Regions from separate parts of the Homo sapiens genome. Here regions 1 and 2 are each linked to region 3. The links are contacts of gene promoters, found by promoter capture Hi-C in blood cells and fetal thymus (Javierre and others, 2016). All regions are on one chromosome and are shown on one strand. Each heading gives the region's core, a stretch centred on a gene start or on the middle of the fragment in contact. The rest is flanking DNA. Distances are from core to core; before and after follow the strand shown. Region 1 overlaps TACC1 (transforming acidic coiled-coil containing protein 1). Region 2 overlaps ADAM9 (ADAM metallopeptidase domain 9). Region 3 holds the start of ASH2L (ASH2 like, histone lysine methyltransferase complex subunit).

Evidence for each region. Contacts are between HindIII fragments. The CHiCAGO score rates a contact against its expected background, and 5 or more counts as called.
Region 1: a contact is called between a fragment that was not itself captured here and the fragment with the promoter of ASH2L in region 3, in 1 of 17 cell types (fetal thymus). The highest score is 5.3, in fetal thymus.
Region 2: a contact is called between a fragment that was not itself captured here and the fragment with the promoter of ASH2L in region 3, in 1 of 17 cell types (naive CD8 T cells). The highest score is 5.5, in naive CD8 T cells.

What each region holds. Positions count from the first base shown.
Region 1 is chr8:38,790,194-38,792,893 of GRCh38, forward strand. All of the region lies in intron 2 of TACC1 (transforming acidic coiled-coil containing protein 1), which reads left to right. Among named protein-coding and RNA genes, the nearest start is that of TACC1, 4.3 kb to the left of the region's middle. The HindIII fragment of the contact is 1,142 bases long and covers 805-1,946 here.
Region 2 is chr8:38,998,335-39,001,034 of GRCh38, forward strand. The region is part of intron 1 of ADAM9 (ADAM metallopeptidase domain 9); the gene reads left to right. Among named protein-coding and RNA genes, the nearest start is that of ADAM9, 2.7 kb to the left of the region's middle. The HindIII fragment of the contact is 252 bases long and covers 1,158-1,409 here.
Region 3 is chr8:38,104,200-38,106,899 of GRCh38, forward strand. ASH2L (ASH2 like, histone lysine methyltransferase complex subunit) reads left to right here and starts at 1,330. Exons shown (of 16, transcript NM_004674.5): 1 at 1,330-1,539; 2 at 2,179-2,245. The coding sequence starts at 1,352. RefSeq lists silencers at 1,098-1,187, 1,518-1,717 and an enhancer at 1,298-1,427. The HindIII fragment of the contact is 22,171 bases long and covers 1-2,700 here.

The DNA of each region.
Region 1 (2,700 bases), core at 126-2,625, 690 kb after region 3:
CTCAACACATGGCCATCTTCTCCCTATGTATCTGTCTTACCGTGCCCTTCCTGTGAGGACACCAGTCGTTGAAGTTAGGGCCCACCCTAATCCAGTTTGACCTCATCTTAACTTGGTAACATCTTCAGAGATACTATTTCTAGATAAGGTCACATTCATAGGTACTAGGAGTTGGGACTTTAACATATCATTTTGAGAGACATAATTCAGCCCACAACAGAGAGCTTTGAACAGAGGGATTGTGATTCAGCTTCTTTTGTAAAAGGCTCCCTGGGCTGCTGTGTGGAGAAGGGACTCTAGGATGGAAGTCCTTTTTATGTGGTTTCTCTGTTCCAGTATCTGGCACTGTCACCCTGAAGTGGCAGCGCCAGCTTTCAGTTATCTAGCTACCTAAACTTTGTGCTGATTGTGACTTTCTCCTCTCCCTAATAAGTATTTTTATTGCTTAGCAACTTCTTCGTAGGTTGCCTAGGGAAGTCAAGTTACTCTGGTAATAGACTGCATGATGGAGCTGGAATTATTGGTAAAATGACATCAGCAAAAAGCTGATTTGGTTTTGCTTTAAATTGATAGCTCCATGCTGTGCTTACCCAGCTGAGAATTCAGCAATACCCTCAACTTGCCCTAGGCTGCATTTTGCCATTGTTCTAGGCAGGGACAACATGGGAATAGGCAAGCTTATATACTGGAGAATTTGTGTGCGACGCATAGCTGTGTAGCACTCTCAGTGATGAAGATAACACTTATTCCTCATAGCTTCCCTTTTCTTCCGTAAAGATTGGCAGATCAGAAGGGAGATTTTGAAGCTTGAAAGAACTATTTGGTGGCCTTTCCATCAAATTTAAATAAAGCTCATAAGACACATGTTAAGGAGCTGTTTGAAAGCCTTTTTGAATTGCCATCAGCTTGGGCGGCCCTTCCTCATCGTTTTGTCAGCTGCTAGACTGATTCATCCCGCCAGATTCTTTGCCAATTGAATAGAGGCCTGGATGACCTAGGCCCCCAAAACCACAGAGACCCAATTGTTTGGTCCTTCCTGTACCAGTGACTCTCACATTTTTTTCATTCTCTCTAAAAGGAAAACTTTTAAATGTTTATGGATCATGAAGGCTCTATGGGGTAGTTCATGAATGCAGACTGTAATTGTAGGGGTAGAGGAGTGTCCAGTCCAGGAAACAACCCTGCATATTATGAAGGCTTTCAGTTTAGGGTCTTTAAACAATAGGATGATTGCTCATCAACCTGGTCGTACCCTGACTTCCAGGGTCCTTGGGTGCAACATCCGGAGCTAGTCCAGAGTACCGCCAATGGCCTTGTCACACATACACAGCAAATGTGCAAAGACAGCCAGAGCACAGGTCTGCCTGGAGAGGATTTCAGTGGGCAGAAAGCCCTTCAGAGTCATTTCATATTGAAGTTTAATTTCTGGGACTGGATAAGTTCCCTTTCTCCCAAAATTATTGATTGTTTTGTTCCTGGTAAAGATAGTCTTTCATACTTTTGTGGTTCCAAGACATGGTTGGACCGCAGTTATAAATTATATAAGACTAAATCATTCTGGAAGAATGATTTACGAGGAGTTAGTCAGGAGTTGGAGTTGAAATATGTAAACATTCTGGCTTCCTGGTACATAATGGCCCTCAAACGTGTGGGCTACATTTACCATACCCATGGCTCCTGTGCTGACTTCTGTATAGTTCTTTGAACTCAGGGAAACATCTAAGACTATTTTGAAATGACTTTTCTTATACTGGAACTGCTTTAGGAACTTGCAGTATCTAAACTCTATAATGACTCTTCCTAAGAGTTGTATGCCAGGAGTTAAGTGGCGGATAAGGTTGTAGATTTTTTTTGAAGCCACATATAGAAGCAGGTTTTAGGCTTACTGGTAAAATAAAACTCTAGCTAAAGATATTTCCTGGAAATAACCAGACTGGTAGCTGTAAAGCTTGGGCTGGTCTGTATTTGCTATCTGTCTGTTTTCTCCCACTAAAGTTGTTTAATGCTGCTGCTGTTGTGGTGGTCTTTCTCTTTGCTGGGAAATATATTGGTGAAGAAACATCCTCTAGGAATGGACTTTTGAGGAGGTACAATCTCAAGTTCATCCTCTGTTTTGTTTTGCTTTGAGACAGGATCTATGTCTAGACTGGAGTGCAGTAGTATGATCATAGCTTACTGCAGCCTCCAACTCCTGGGCTCAGATGATCCTCCTGCCTCAGCCTCCTGAGTAGCTGGGACTATAGGCACACACTACCATGCCTGGCTAATTTTTTGTTTTGTTTTGTTTTTTGAGATAGAGTCTCGCTCTGTTGCCCTGGCTGAAATGCAGTGGTGCGATCTCGGCTCACTGCAAGCTCCGCCTCCTGGGTTCACGCCATTCTTCTGCCTCAGCCTCCCAAGTAGCTAGGACCACAGGCGCCCACCACTACGCCCAGCTAATTTTTTGTATTTTTAGTAGAGACGGGGTTTCACCGTGTTAGCCAGGATGGTCTCGATCTCCTGACCTCGTGATCCGCCCGCCTTGGCCTCCCAAAGTGCTGGGATTACAGGCGTGAGCCACCACGCCTGGCCAGTTTTTTTATTTTTTGTAGAGATAGGGTCTTGCTATGTTGCCTAGGCTGATCTCGAACTCCTGGCCTAAAGGGATTCTCCTGCCTCACCCTCCCAAAGTCCTGGGATTACAGGCGTGAGCTACCATGC
Region 2 (2,700 bases), core at 34-2,533, 890 kb after region 3:
TTAACACTCACCGATGTTTAAGGTGAAGACGATTATACATCCGGAGTTTTATTAATCTGTGATTTTTTTTTGTGTTTGTAAATGTAAATAAGACTGTATTTTTAAATGTTAATATAAATTGTCAGTCATTACCGACCTGCATTAGGTGAGTGGAATATCCTGATGGTCTTTAACTGTGGTTTTGGCCAGCTCCTCACTTCGGCATGTGTATGCCCCTTCAAAGTTTAGCCACCGTTTATGGAACTCCTATAAACACCACACAGTTGATTGTAGAGGGGCAGAAGGTGACCAAATATGCTAAGCGCATCTGAGAGATGTTGGGGAAGATTTTTAGAGAAAATAATATTTGAACTGGGCTACATCGGTGATTTTTCAAGTAGAATAGTAGATACATTCTAAGCAGAGGAAAGTTTTTGCAAGAGTATGGTGGGGCGGGGGGCGTATGAAAGAACATGACTTTTTAGGAAATGATAAAAATGTCAATATGTCTTCATGCAGACTATAAAAGGGAGGGATGGAAGATCAAACTAAGGTAGGTTGTTACCAGTTGGGAAGAGTCTTCTATGCTGAACTAAGGGGTTTGGACTTCACCCCGTAGGAAGTTCTTTGGGCAGTGGAGGTTTTAAGTAGGGGTGCGACCTAATCTCATTTTCTGTTAAGAAAACGGGCAACACGGTGGAGGATAGAATCTAGGAGGGAGAGACTAGAGGCTGGGACACCGGTTAAGAGGCTTTTGTAATAGTGTGCAGTGAGTCAACTCTTGTTTCTCTCGGGGAACGTTCATACAAAATCAGCTGACCACATTTTTGCAGTATAAGGTGTTTAAAACGTGCACTGAAACATTTTCCAGGATCGAAAGAGGAATTTGAGGTACCAGGCACACGTCAGTTACATTAGGAGTTAATTAGGTTTTATAGGATTTTTACTACCTTTTATAACATTGTCTCAATGAGGAAATGCAGTATAATTTCCAAACAGCTAACTTTCAGTAAACTTTTTTTTTTTTTTTAAACTGACAAAGGTAACTGTGTCATTGTAAAAAATAAGCGGAATCAGGTATGAAACCTCTTCTGATTTTCTAAGGTAGTAATTATGAGGAACAGATTTAGAATTTTTTTTTAAACAAAGACTGGCATTCTAAAGAAAATGACTTTGAAAGCTTACTCATGGTGAGTCACTGTAAAATCATTTGTGTAGTAAGAACTTAGGTCCATACTAATCTCGTTTTCAGATGCCAGCAAAATATTTGAATTTGATATGTTTGTGTTTGTGCCGATAGGAGAATGTAGCCTTTTACATTTAAGAATGATTTGGTTTTCAACCTTTTAAGTAAAAAAGAAAGCATATATAATTAAAATATGTACAAACCTAGTTCCTGGTTTCCAAGACAGTTTTCAAAAAGCACTTGAAGCTTTAACTTACCAAATTTATATTTGCTCTTTGTAAAAAATCTGGGTTTATAATAGAATTTATTATGGAATCCCCCAAAAGATGCAAGCTCTAAGTAACTGGAAGCTTTTTCTTGGGAATATCCGCAAGCTCAAACATATGACATAGCCTCATATTTCTTTTTCCTTTTTGGTATGTAACATATACTGGAGGCTTGGAGTCATGCCATCCTTTTGAGTCAGCGCTATGGAACTGCCTCATAAATGAATGCAGTCCTTTTGTATCTCAGTAGCTAATCCCTCACAGTCTTTTTTTTTTTGAGATGGAGTCTTGCTGTGTCGCCCAGGCTGGAGTGCAGTGGCACGATCTCGGCCCACTGCAACCTTCACCTCCCGAGTTCAAGCAATTCTCCTGCCTCAGCCTTATGCCTGGCTAGTTTTTTGTATTTTTAGTAGAGATGGAGTTTCACGGTATTAGCCAGGATGGTCTCGACCTCCTGACCTCGTGATCCGCCCACCTCAGCCTCCCAAAGCGCTGAGACTACAGGCATGAGCCACCGCGCCCCAGCCTCTCTCACAGTCTTTGAATGGGTCTAATGTGGACCCAACTAAAGTTGGGTAGCACAATGTTGTTTGTATATTGAGAGATTATTGTAGTTTATTTTCCATTTCATGTTGTTATTTTAATCAGATTATTTTCCCTAAGTGATCATATGTGGGACACTGCTTGAGTCACATCTTTTTTTTTTCTTTCTGAGAGACAGGGTCTTGCTCTGTTGCCCAGGCTGGAGTGCAGTGGAACAGTCATAGATCACTGTAACCTCGAATTCCTGGGCTGAAGCAATCCTCCTGCCTAAGCCTCCTGAGTAGCTGGGACTGCAGGGGTGTGTCACCATGCTTGGCTAATTAAAAACTTTTTTTGTGTGTGGAGAGGCAATCTTGCTCTGTTGCCCAGGCTGGTCTCGAACTCCTGGGCTCAAGTGTTCCTCCTGCATCAGCCTCCCAAAGTGCTGGGATTACAGGTGTGAACCACCACACCTGGCCTTAAATCACATCTTTTAAGAGTGAGCTAGGGAACCTTAGAAATTAACTTGGTCCGTTTTAAAATATGCAGTTCTGTTTGTATTTATTTATGTTTATGGTAATGTAAGTATTGTGTTACTAAACCTTACTGGAAGAAAAGAAAATGATATCACCCCCAGACATGTTATAATGTAGGGCAGAACTCAAAGGGAATGGGACGTTCCCTTTGATGAATTGTTCTTTTAATGAGATTTTTCATGATTTAAGTCATTTTAGGATGATTTTAACG
Region 3 (2,700 bases), core at 80-2,579:
GTGGTGACAGATACCTGTAATCTCAGCTACTCGGGAGGCTGAGGTAGGAGAATCGCTTGAACCTGGGGTGGAGGTTGCAGTGAGCCGTGATCGGGCCACTGCGCTCCAGCCTGGGCGACAGAGCGAGACTCTGTCTCAAACAAACAACAACAAGAAAACACAAAATTCTGCGACCATATGTTAAAACTGCTACAATACTACGTATTTGGGAGGAGATACTTAGATCAAGCATCCTGCTTCTCTTTGGAGTACCAACCCCTGATTTAAGTATTTATCATCAATTTTAAAAATGTAACCTGGCAACTCAGTTAGGTCTTTCTTCAATTTTGTTGAAAACCAATAATTGAGAACCAATTGGGAAATCAATATCTACGTATTTCCCATGGCGTCCAGTGGCCCAGAGATTCCTACACTATCGGTGGACACATCACAGTAAGATTAGACTGAGGATTGGCGAGGGGTGCGCCGTTCTTGTGTAAAGCGGGAGAAGAGTGTATTATCGTTAGGCAACATTTTAGGATATAGGATAAACACTGGTGTCCTGAAAACGTTCCTGGCCGCAACACTCTCAGAGGTTTGCATTCTCGAGTTTGGAGACCATGGCTCTGAAAGACTCAACTCACTCCACTGATGCCAGCCACCAGCTACTGTTGATGACTTCCCAAGTTCGTACTTTCAGTCCACACCTCTTCCTTTCGCTGGGCACCAAACTTGTCTACATTCCGAGTGCCCCGGCACACCCCGGGGCTTCGCTTTCCGCCTCTCACAGTAGGAAGCGGCGAGCCGCTTCTAGTGCCCACGCCGCTCCTCGGCTGCCCGGCCTGGGTTTTCCACCCTCGCCCCTGGAATCGGCCTCCCTAGATTCCCTTCCCTCTTAAAATCATTTGGAAACGGGCTCCAAGGGGCGACCCTGCGCAGAAAACCAAATTCCATCCGGGGCGGGCAGGGAGTGCTAGACTCCAAGGAAGACGTTTCCCACATTCGGTGGTGAGGAGTGTTTGGCGGCACGGCACGGCCAGCGCTCTCAAGGACCCTCTTCTGCGCAGAATATCCAGTCGTAGCCACGAAAATACGCCGCGTCAGTCCCTGACTCGAAAGGAAGTCCTCCAGAGAGCCGCACTAACCATCTAGCTTCCTCCACCTTCAGCCTGCCAGGCCCGCGGCCACCGCCGGCGCGGGAGGCCGGCCCACCTCTGCCCGCGCGCCTGGCCTTAAAGCGGTCGTGGAATTATGCTTCCTCAGGCAGGCGGTGGACGCACCGCGGGCTTTTTCTGTTTGAAGACTACAGCGTCACACAGCAACGCGCGCGAGAGAAGAGAGTATTCTCGCGAGAAGTCCAGGGGTGGCCGTGATGGCGGCGGCAGGAGCAGGACCTGGCCAGGAAGCGGGTGCCGGGCCTGGCCCAGGAGCGGTCGCAAATGCAACAGGGGCAGAAGAGGGGGAGATGAAGCCGGTGGCAGCGGGAGCAGCCGCTCCTCCTGGAGAGGGGATCTCTGCTGCTCCGACAGTTGAGCCCAGTTCCGGGGAGGCTGAAGGCGGGTAAGAGGTCCTGCCGCCCGAGGAAGACGCGGGAGGGAGGCCCGCCCCTCGCGAATCCCGCGGCTCCTGGAGCCCTGCCGCCCGCCCCCTGCGAACCCAGGCCCCGCCGCCAATGGCTCGCCCTGCCTCTGCGCCGCTTGGCCCGTCCCCTCTCAAGCATATCTCGGATAACGCCCCTTCCGCACCTTTCACGGGCGGTGGGAGCTGAGGCTCCTGTCGTTATCTCTGATCCTTGCACCCTGGCAGGAAGCTGGTAGCTCACACTTTAACGGGAGGCCTTCACATATTCCAGAAAAGAAACCACTTTGCAGTGCCAGACTGGAAGAAGTAACGGTCACTCTGAAAACAGGGTGGGAGAGCTGCCTCTCTTTGAACCTCTCCCAGGACCAACTCTAACCCAGGTAGATTTGACTGTAAAGGCCGGTTAGGCTTCCCTGTGCTCCGTGGGTCCGCGACTGTCTGACATGTCCACCTTCTCAGTATCCTGACAGTACCTTGGGCATCCAGTCTGAGATCAGGCTTAGCTGAAAAAGCTGCAGGAGTATGAAGTTCGGCTGTAATTTGATCATCATTTTTGGGAATAGGCATTTTGAGGTTTGTCTTGAGAATTCTTACTTGAGCGCTTTCATTATCTTATAGGGAGGCAAACTTGGTCGATGTAAGCGGTGGCTTGGAGACAGAATCATCTAATGGAAAAGATACACTAGTAAGTATTTTTAGTTGTTTGCAAGACAAAATAGGGTTTGTTTTAGTTATTTCTTCTTCTTCTTTTTTTTTTTTTTTTGTTGCGACGGAGCCTTGCTCTGTCGCCCAGGCTGGAATGCAGTGGCGCGATCTCGGCTCACTGCAACCTCCTCCCCCCGGGTTCCAGCGATTCTCCTGCCTCAGCCTCCCGAGTATCTGGGATTACAGGCATCTGCCAACACACCTGGCTTCTTTTTTTTGTCTTTTTAGTAGAGACGGGGTTTCACCATGTTGGCCAGGCTGGTCTCGAACTCCTAACCTCAGTTGATTCTCCCGCCTCAGCCTCCCAGAGTGTTGGGATTACAGGCGTGAGCCACCGCGCCCGGCCTTGTTTTTACATTTTTAAGCGAATCAAAAATACATTCAGGCCAGGCACGGTGGCTCATGCCTGTAATCCCAGCACTTTGGGAGGCTGAG